Regions from separate parts of the Homo sapiens genome. Here region 2 is linked to region 1. The links are contacts of gene promoters, found by promoter capture Hi-C in human tissues and cell types (Jung and others, 2019). All regions are on one chromosome and are shown on one strand. The core of a region is centred on a gene start or on the middle of the fragment in contact, and the rest is flanking DNA. Distances in the headings are between cores, read along the strand shown.

The links. Contacts are between HindIII fragments. The study calls those that stand out against the background at their distance.
Region 2: a contact is called between a fragment that was not itself captured here and the fragment with the promoter of CDCA5 in region 1, in 1 of the 25 tissues and cell types used here (hippocampus).

The regions. Positions count from the first base shown.
Region 1 is chr11:65,081,914-65,085,920 of GRCh38, forward strand. It overlaps CDCA5 (cell division cycle associated 5), which reads right to left and starts at 2,127. Exons shown (of 6, transcript NM_080668.4): 1 at 2,020-2,127; 2 at 1,716-1,810; 3 at 1,572-1,637; 4 at 1,451-1,486. The coding sequence starts at 2,065. It overlaps ZFPL1 (zinc finger protein like 1), which reads left to right and starts at 2,309. Exons shown (of 8, transcript NM_006782.4): 1 at 2,309-2,465; 2 at 2,778-2,887; 3 at 3,202-3,313. The coding sequence starts at 2,786. RefSeq lists enhancers at 1,859-2,088, 2,169-2,438, 3,028-3,612. The HindIII fragment of the contact is 10,147 bases long and covers 1-4,007 here.
Region 2 is chr11:65,511,420-65,515,426 of GRCh38, forward strand. It overlaps the pseudogene SNRPGP19. Among named protein-coding and RNA genes, the nearest start is that of SCYL1, 12 kb to the right of the region's middle. The HindIII fragment of the contact is 7,969 bases long and covers 1-4,007 here.

The sequences.
Region 1 (4,007 bases), core at 877-3,376:
GCCACTGCACTCCAGCCTGGGTGGCAGAACAAGACCCTATCTTTAGAACTGGTAAGGCCTAAGAGAATTACATAGAGAAATGTGACAGCAATAGGGTAAGGGTGGTCAGGGAAGGCCACTGGGGGGCAATTCCCTCTGAACCCAGTACTGTATATCATCCTGGCTTTAGCTCACGCCCTTGGCTTCATGCTTCAGAATTCCTGGACTTCACGTCATTCCACTGGTCTTGGAGCCCCAGGGTAGCCCTTCTCAAAACCATTCTCCCCACAGCCCCCAGAGGGGTCTTTCTTAAAACACTCAAACTTGACTCGGTCACTACCTTACCCAGAACTCTCCAAAGGCTGCCCACAGACCCAAGAATGATGCCCAAGCCATGAGTGTGGCTTTTGTGCCTCATCAGGATCTGCTCTGCCTTAGGGTGCTTCCTCCCCTGCTGAGGTCTGCTGCAGACACTAAACAAATTGCTATTCCCCGAACCTTGATTTTTCTTTAAATTCCCAATCTCTGCAAACATGGCTTCTTTGACCTGGAACAAACCTACTTGTCTTTTTTTTTTTTTTTTTTTTTGAGATGGAGTCTCGCTTTGTCACCCAGGCTGGAGTGCAGGGGCGTGATCTCGGCCCACTGCAACCTCCGCCTCCTGGGTTTAAGCGATTCTCCTGCCTCAGCCTCCTGAGTAGCTGGGACTATAGGCACGTGCCACCATGCCTGGCTAATTTTGTATTTTTAGTAGACACAGGGTTTCACCACGTTGGCCAGGCTGGTCTTAAACTCTTGACCACAAGTGATCTGCCCGCCTCAGCCTCCCAAAATGCTAGGATCACAAGCGTGAGCCACTGCACCCGGCCTCTACTTGTCTTTAAAGACTCAGTTCAAATGTTTCTTCTTCCACGAAACATTCCCTGAGCCACATGGTCTGGGTTAGCTACCATCATAGCATCTAGTATTCCTTATTGCAGTCCCAGTACACAACGTTGCTATCACTTGTCATTGGTCTTTCTCCCCAGTTGACTCTAAGCCCTATCAGCTCTTCAAAGGAGTTCACATTTCTCAGTCAGTATGTCTTCAGATTGTCTATTAATGAAACATCCTTTGATAATAACTTCTGCTAAAACTGTAAAAATGTCATACACATGACTTATCTCAGAACACCCATACATGAAAGCTGAAGGCATAATGGATTAGAAAGGCAGTACGTGGAGTTAAGACATAGCTCAGCTTTTAAAGGAAGTTCCAGGAAAATGGTAGAAATACACAAGGCATAAAAAGTTAAGTGTATTAAGTCTTCAGGGAGTAATCAAGACTGGCAATGCATGCAGGTGCCCACAGGCAAACTGTTTTTGCAGTACTGCAAAACAGCTCCCTGGGCAGATGTGAGGAGCCAATGTGTGCTGTCCAGCTCTAGAGTGACCCAGATTCTACTTAATTAAGTAGATGAAAGTGAACTCACCCTAGGGCTCCTGCGAGGTGATTGGACAGCTGGGACCTGCGGGGGACAATACCAATTGATCACATAGCTGGTCCCCAGTTTTGCCCGCCTAACCACCCACAACACTCTCCTTAGCCTTTACCTCTACAGCATGGGCCACGATCCTCTTTAAGACGATGGGCTTTCTGACTGCAGCCGCACTGGGTGTCTGGAGAAGAGGGATGAACGTGAGCTCAACATTAGGTGAGGGGCCACAAGGGGAGGAAGTGAGAAATCTGGGGCTCACCTTCGGCCAGATTTCAGGGAGGATGCTCGGGAGTTCAGAGCCTGATTTCCGCTGGGACCTCCGCAGAGGCTTAGTAGGAGATGGGGCCCTTGGCCCTGGAAAGAGAAAAAAGTTAAGTGGTAGAGGAGGACTCTAGACCTTAGAGTCCAGAGAACAGGTTCTAGAGACAGCGAGAAGATTCCCAAACAAGCCCTTTTAAGGGCGCCTCCTCCGGCGGCGGCAGCGGGAGGGAAGAGGCCATCTTTCACCGGACTGCGTCCCCCAAACGGCTCGACCTCACGTCTCCCGCGCGCCCTCCGCTCACCGGAGCGCTGAGCGGCTCCTCCGGACCGCGTTCGCCTCCCAGACATAACTTAGGCTCCGTCTCGAGCTCCTCCAGCGCCGCCGCCCCGGGCGCGCGCCAACCGGGAAGGCCACTCGCTGCAAAAAACGTTCGAATTACCCGCCCTGCGGGAAAGGAAGCGGAAGTGACGTAGGGCTAGCGGTCTGCGGCCCTCGGAACCCCGAGTCTTTTCCACCCGTCTTCACCTCTAGCGGCAGCGGAGGCGTGGCCCAGGGGCGCGATGGCGTCATCAGCGCGCGCCGCACCCGGAAGAGACGTGGCAGCGGAGGGATAATCGGGGCGGCCGGGGCTGAAGGGAGAGGCGCAGGAGCCCTGGGGAGAGTGGTCCCTGCCCTTCCGCGCCTCGAGCCATCGCTACCGCCCTTCGGAACCAGTGCAGCGGCCGATCAGTAAACACAGAGACTGGGGTCTGTAGAGAAGGGGCGGGACTTGGAGGGGGTGGGGCTCAGGAGAGGTCTTGGGGGCGGGGCCGGTAGTATCGGGGAGCCTCTGATGGAGGGGCCTGGCCGGGGGCGGGATCCAGAAGGATTGAGGGGTCGCCGGAGGCGGGATTTATGCAGGGGGTGTTTCTCCGCATAAGGAGGGACAGTGGGCAGGAATCTGAGATCGGGGCGAATATGAGAGGTGTCTGGGGGAGTTAAGAGTGGAAACTGGGCTGGTGAGAGCGTAGTGGTGGCCACCAGAACCTGACTTCCTACCAACTCATGCCCCTTTCCCAGGATCGATCATGGGGCTTTGTAAGTGCCCCAAGAGAAAGGTGACCAACCTGTTCTGCTTCGAACATCGGGTCAACGTCTGCGAGCACTGCCTGGTAGCCAATCACGCCAAGGTGGGGCCTTCAGGGGAGCGACTGAGCAGGGCACTGGGTGGGCAAGGCGGTATTGGCTTCCTCCAAATCCATGAGGGGCCCCGCGCTAGAATGTAAGCCCCACAAGGGCAAGGACTTGATTTATTTTGTTCACTGATATATCCCCCGTTCCCAAGAGAGAGTCTGGTGCACAGTATGTGCTCAATAAATATTTATTGATTAAACAAACGAAAGGATGAGTCTCCTCTGTGGCTAGAGAAAAAGAGACAGTCGGACCTTGGGGTGATAGGCCGAGCAGCCCCAGCACCAGTTGTGACATCTCTCTCCCACTCCAGTGCATCGTCCAGTCCTACCTGCAATGGCTCCAAGATAGCGACTACAACCCCAATTGCCGCCTGTGCAACATACCCCTGGCCAGCCGAGAGACGACCCGCCTTGTCTGCTATGGTGAGGCCTTGGCACCTCGGGGGGATCAGGCCAGCCTCAGGGGCCAGCTTGGTGACTGGTTTCCAGGCCCTCCTCAAGCAGCAGGACAGTGAGTCCCCCGAGTCTCAGAGCCCAGATTCTAGTCCTGTTAAAGTTCCTTACCTGCTGTGTAAGTTCAGGCAAGTTATTCTTCCTTTCTAGGCCTCACTGTCTTTCCTAAAAATTAAAGCTCCTAGTTCCTCTTTCCTAAAAATTAAGCCCTGCCAATCTGGAGGTTTCAGCGAGAACCAGTCAAGCTTACGGGTATGCTGGTGGCCGTGACTATTAGCTAGCCAGACCGGCATGTTGCTTTCAGATATTCAGGATCCACCACTGATTCCAAGGCTAAACAGAGAGGAAGTGAGTTTCCCACATTAAAGTTAGCTAAAAGAAGTCAGCAGACATATGTGTCATGACTTTGACCTGAATCTGGGGTAAGAGCCTTAGCTCCAGTTTTTGAAGGAGCTCATGCAAGAGTCAGCTCCATATGTGTTTCTCCTTGTGAGTGCATGTGTGTACTTGCAGGCACTTAATGTACATTGTGTGTTTAAATGAGTGTTAGTGTGTTGATCTGTACTTGGGGTGAATGAATGGGTAAATGTATGTATGTGAACATATGAACACAGGTGTGTTGTGGGAGTGCAAGAGAATGCATGGTTGAGGGTGCCTGTTAGCA
Region 2 (4,007 bases), core at 823-3,322, 430 kb after region 1:
AGCACTTTGGGAGGCCGAGGAGGGTGGATCACCTGAGGTTAGGAGTTCGAGACCAGCCTAGTCAATATGGAGAAACCTCCTCGTCTCTACCAAAAATACAAAAATGTTACAAACCTCACATTCGACACATGTATCCCAGGACTTAAAGTTAAAAAAAAATTATCTGAGTGTGATGGCACATGCCTGTAATCCCAGGTACTCGGGAGGCTGAGGCAGGAGAATTGCTTGAACCAGCGAGGCAGAGATTGCAGTGAGCCGAGATCATGCCATTGCACTCCAGCCTGGCCAACAGTGAGATTCCATCTCAAAAAAAAAAAAAAAAAAAAATTAAGGCCAGTCTCAGTGGCTCACGCCTGTAACCCCAGCACTTTGGGAGGCCAAAATGGACAGAACACTTGAAGTCAGGGGTTTGAGACCAGCCTGGCCAATGTGGTAAAACCTTGTTTCTACTAAAAATACAAAAAAATTAGCTGGGCGTAGTGGCACACATCTGTAATCCCAGCTATTCGGGAGGCTGAGACATGAGAATCACTTGAACCCAGGAGGTAGAGATCACGTCACTGCACTCCAGCCTGGGTACCAGAGTGAGACTCTGTTTAAAAAAAAATAAAAATTAAGAGTGGCTGGGCATGGTGGCTCACGCCGGTAATCCAAGTACTTTGGAAGGCTGCAGAGGGTGGATCTCTTGAGGCCAAGAGTTTGAGACCAACATGGCCAACACAGCAAGACCAAAAATATACAAAAATTAGCCAGGCGTGGTGGCTGGCTCCTGTAATCCCAGCTATTTGGGAGGCTGAGGCATTGCTTGAACCCAGGAGGTGGAGGCTACATTAGGCCGAGATCGCACCACTGCACTCCAGCCTGGACAACAGAGCAAGACTCTGTCTCAAAAAACAACAACAACAAAAAAGAGATTGTGTCTTGCTTTGTTATCCAGGCTGGTCTTGAACTCCTGGACTCAAGGGATCCTCCCACCTCAGCCTCCCAAAGTGGGATTACAGGTGTGACCCACTGCACCCAGCACTGGTGTTTTTTGTTTTGTTTTGGGACATGGTCTCACTTTGTCGCTGTTGCTCAGGCCGCAGTTCAGTGGCAGGATCTCAGCTTACTGCAGCCTCTGCCTCCTGAGCTCAAGCCAGCCTCCCACCTGAGCCTCCCAAGTAGCTGGAACCATACAGGTGCATACCACCATGCCTAGCTAATTTTTTTTTTAGATGGAGTTTCACTCTTGTTGCCCAGGCTGGAATGCAATGGCACGATCTTGGCTCACTGCAACCTCCACCTCCCCAGTTCAAGCAATTCTCTTGCCTCAGCCTCCTGATTAGCTAGGATTACAGGCATGCACCACCATGCTAGGCTAATTTTGTATTTTTAGTAGAGATGGGTTTTCTCCATTTTGGTCAGGCTGGTCTCTAACTCCTGACCTCAGGTGGTCTGCCCGCCTTGGCCTACCAAAGTGCTGGGATTACAGGTGTGATCCACCGCACCCGGCCTTAATTTTTTTATTTTTAGTAGAGATGGGGTCTCTCCATGTTGCCCAGGATGGTCTGGAACTCCTGAGCTCGAGTGATCCTCCCGCCTCAGCCTTCCAAAGTGCTGAGATTACAGGTGTGAGCCGCCTCGCCTGGCCACAGTTGCGTATCTTCTTTGGTGAAGTGTCTGTTCATTTGTGTTGTGTTTTTCTCTTTTCTTTTCTTTTCTTTTCTTTTCTTTTTAAGACGGAGTCTCCGTCTGTCGCCCAGGCTAGAGTGCAGTGTTGCGATCTCGGTTCACTGCAACCTCCACCTCCCAGGTTCAAGCGATTCTCCTGCCTCAGCCTCCCAAGTACCTGGGATTGAAGGAGCGCCCCACCACGCCCGGCTAATTTTTGTTTTTTTAGTAGAGACCGGGTTTCACCAGGTTGGTCAGGCTGGTCTTGAACTCCTGACCTCAAATGATCCACCCACCACGGCCTCCCAAAGGTGTGAGCCACCGTGCCCAGCCATTTTGTGTTTTTTTTTTCTTGCCATTGTTGTTGGCATTTTTATCTTTTGTTGAGTTGTAAGGGCTTTTACATATTCGAGATAGAAGTCCCTTGTCAGATTTTTTTTCTTTTTTTACTTCTGTTGTATGTTTATTATTTATTTTGTATTTTTTGAGACGGAGTCTCGCTCTGTCGCCCAGGCTGGAGTGCAGTGGTGCAATCTCAGCTCACTGCAACCTCTGCCTCCCGGGTTCAAGCAATTCTCCTGCCTCAGCCTCCCAAGTGGCTGGGATTACAGGCATGCACCACCACACCCCACTAATTTTTGTATTTTTAGTAGAGACAGGGTTTCACAATGTCGGCCAGGCTGGTCTCAAACTCCTGACCTCAAGAGATCTGCCTGCCTTGGTCTCCCAAAGTGTTGGGATTACAGGCATGAGCCGCTGCCCGTGGCCTGTTTTATGTTTAGATATATGTTTTGCAAAAGTTTTATCCCAATATGTGTCTTTCTTTTCATTTTTTTGTAACAGTGTCTTTGAGGAGTAGAAGTTTTAAATCTCTTTTTTTAAATTTTTATTGTTACAAATGTTTACTTAATAAAAAGCTTAATATAAAAATGCACATGGCCCAGGCCGGGCGCGGTGGCTCATGCCTGTAATCCCAGCACTTTGGGAGGCCGAGGCGGGCTGATCACGAGGTCAGAAGATCAAGACCATCCTGGCTAACATGGTGAAACCCCGTCTCTACTAAAAATAATACAAAAAATTAGCCGGGCGTGGTGGCGGGCGCCTGTAGTCCCAGCTACTTGAGAGGCTGAGGCAAGAGAATGGCATAAACCCGGGAGGCAGAGCTTGCAGTGAGCCGAGATTGTGCCACTGCACTCCAGCCTGAGCGACAAAGGGAGACTCTGTCTCAAAAAAAAAAAAAAAAAAAAATGTACGTGGCCCAATTTTTACATCATAGTAAAACAAGTCCTTTGGAGAAGGGACTTGGATTTCTCTGCAGAGCCGCCATTGTTTATAGTTGTTCCAAGGCTTCTAATATGAGGATACTTCTCCCTCATCTTACCACTGTTCCAGGGTTGCTCTGTTGTCCACTAGTTGCCATCTTCACACTTTCATCTATCACAAGATTCATAAAGGGATCAAATCCCCAAAATATTCCTTGGATACATCTGCCATCATTTAATATTTTTTATTTTTTATTTTTTTGAGATGGAGTCTCACACTGTTGCCAGGCTAGAATGCAGTGGCTCGATCTTGGCTCACAGCAACCTCTGACTCCCTGGTTCAAGCGATTCTCCTGCCTCAGCCTCCAGAGTAGCTGGGACTACAGGCATGCGCCACCACGCCCAGCTAATTTTTGTATTTTTAGTAGAGACGGGTTTTCACCATGCTGGCCAAGATGGTCTCGATCTCTTGACCTGGTGATCTACCCGCCTCAGCCTCCCAAAGTGCTGGGATTACAGGCGTGAGCCACCATGCCTAGCCGTTATCTATAATTTTTATGCTGGAGGAGGGCGGGGGGTGAGCTTTGCTCATAGTGTCTCAAGGTTTTAAATCTTGAACAAACTACTGATACACCCGTAATACATAAGAATTTCAAAAGATGTTGAGATTAAAGAAACCAGTTTTTAAAAACTATTAGTTTAGTGCAAAAGTAATTGCAGGCTGGGTGTGGCAGCTCACGCCTATAATCCCAGCACTTTGGGAGGCCAAAGCAAGTGGATCACCTGAGGTCAGGAGTTCAAGACCAGCCTGACCAACGTGGTGAAGCCCCGTCTCTACTAAAAATACAAAAATTAGCCGAGTGTGGTGGTAAACACCTGCAATCCCAGCTACCGGGGAGGCTGAGACATGAGAATCGCTTGAACCCGGGAGACAGAGGTTGCAGTGAGCCATGATTGCACCCCTGCACTCAAGCCTGGGTGACAGAGTGAGACTCCGTCTCAAAAAAAAGTAATTGCAGTTTTTGCCATTAATACATACTGCATGATTCAATTTATATACAAATCTTTGTATTTTTAGTAGAGACGGGGTTTCAC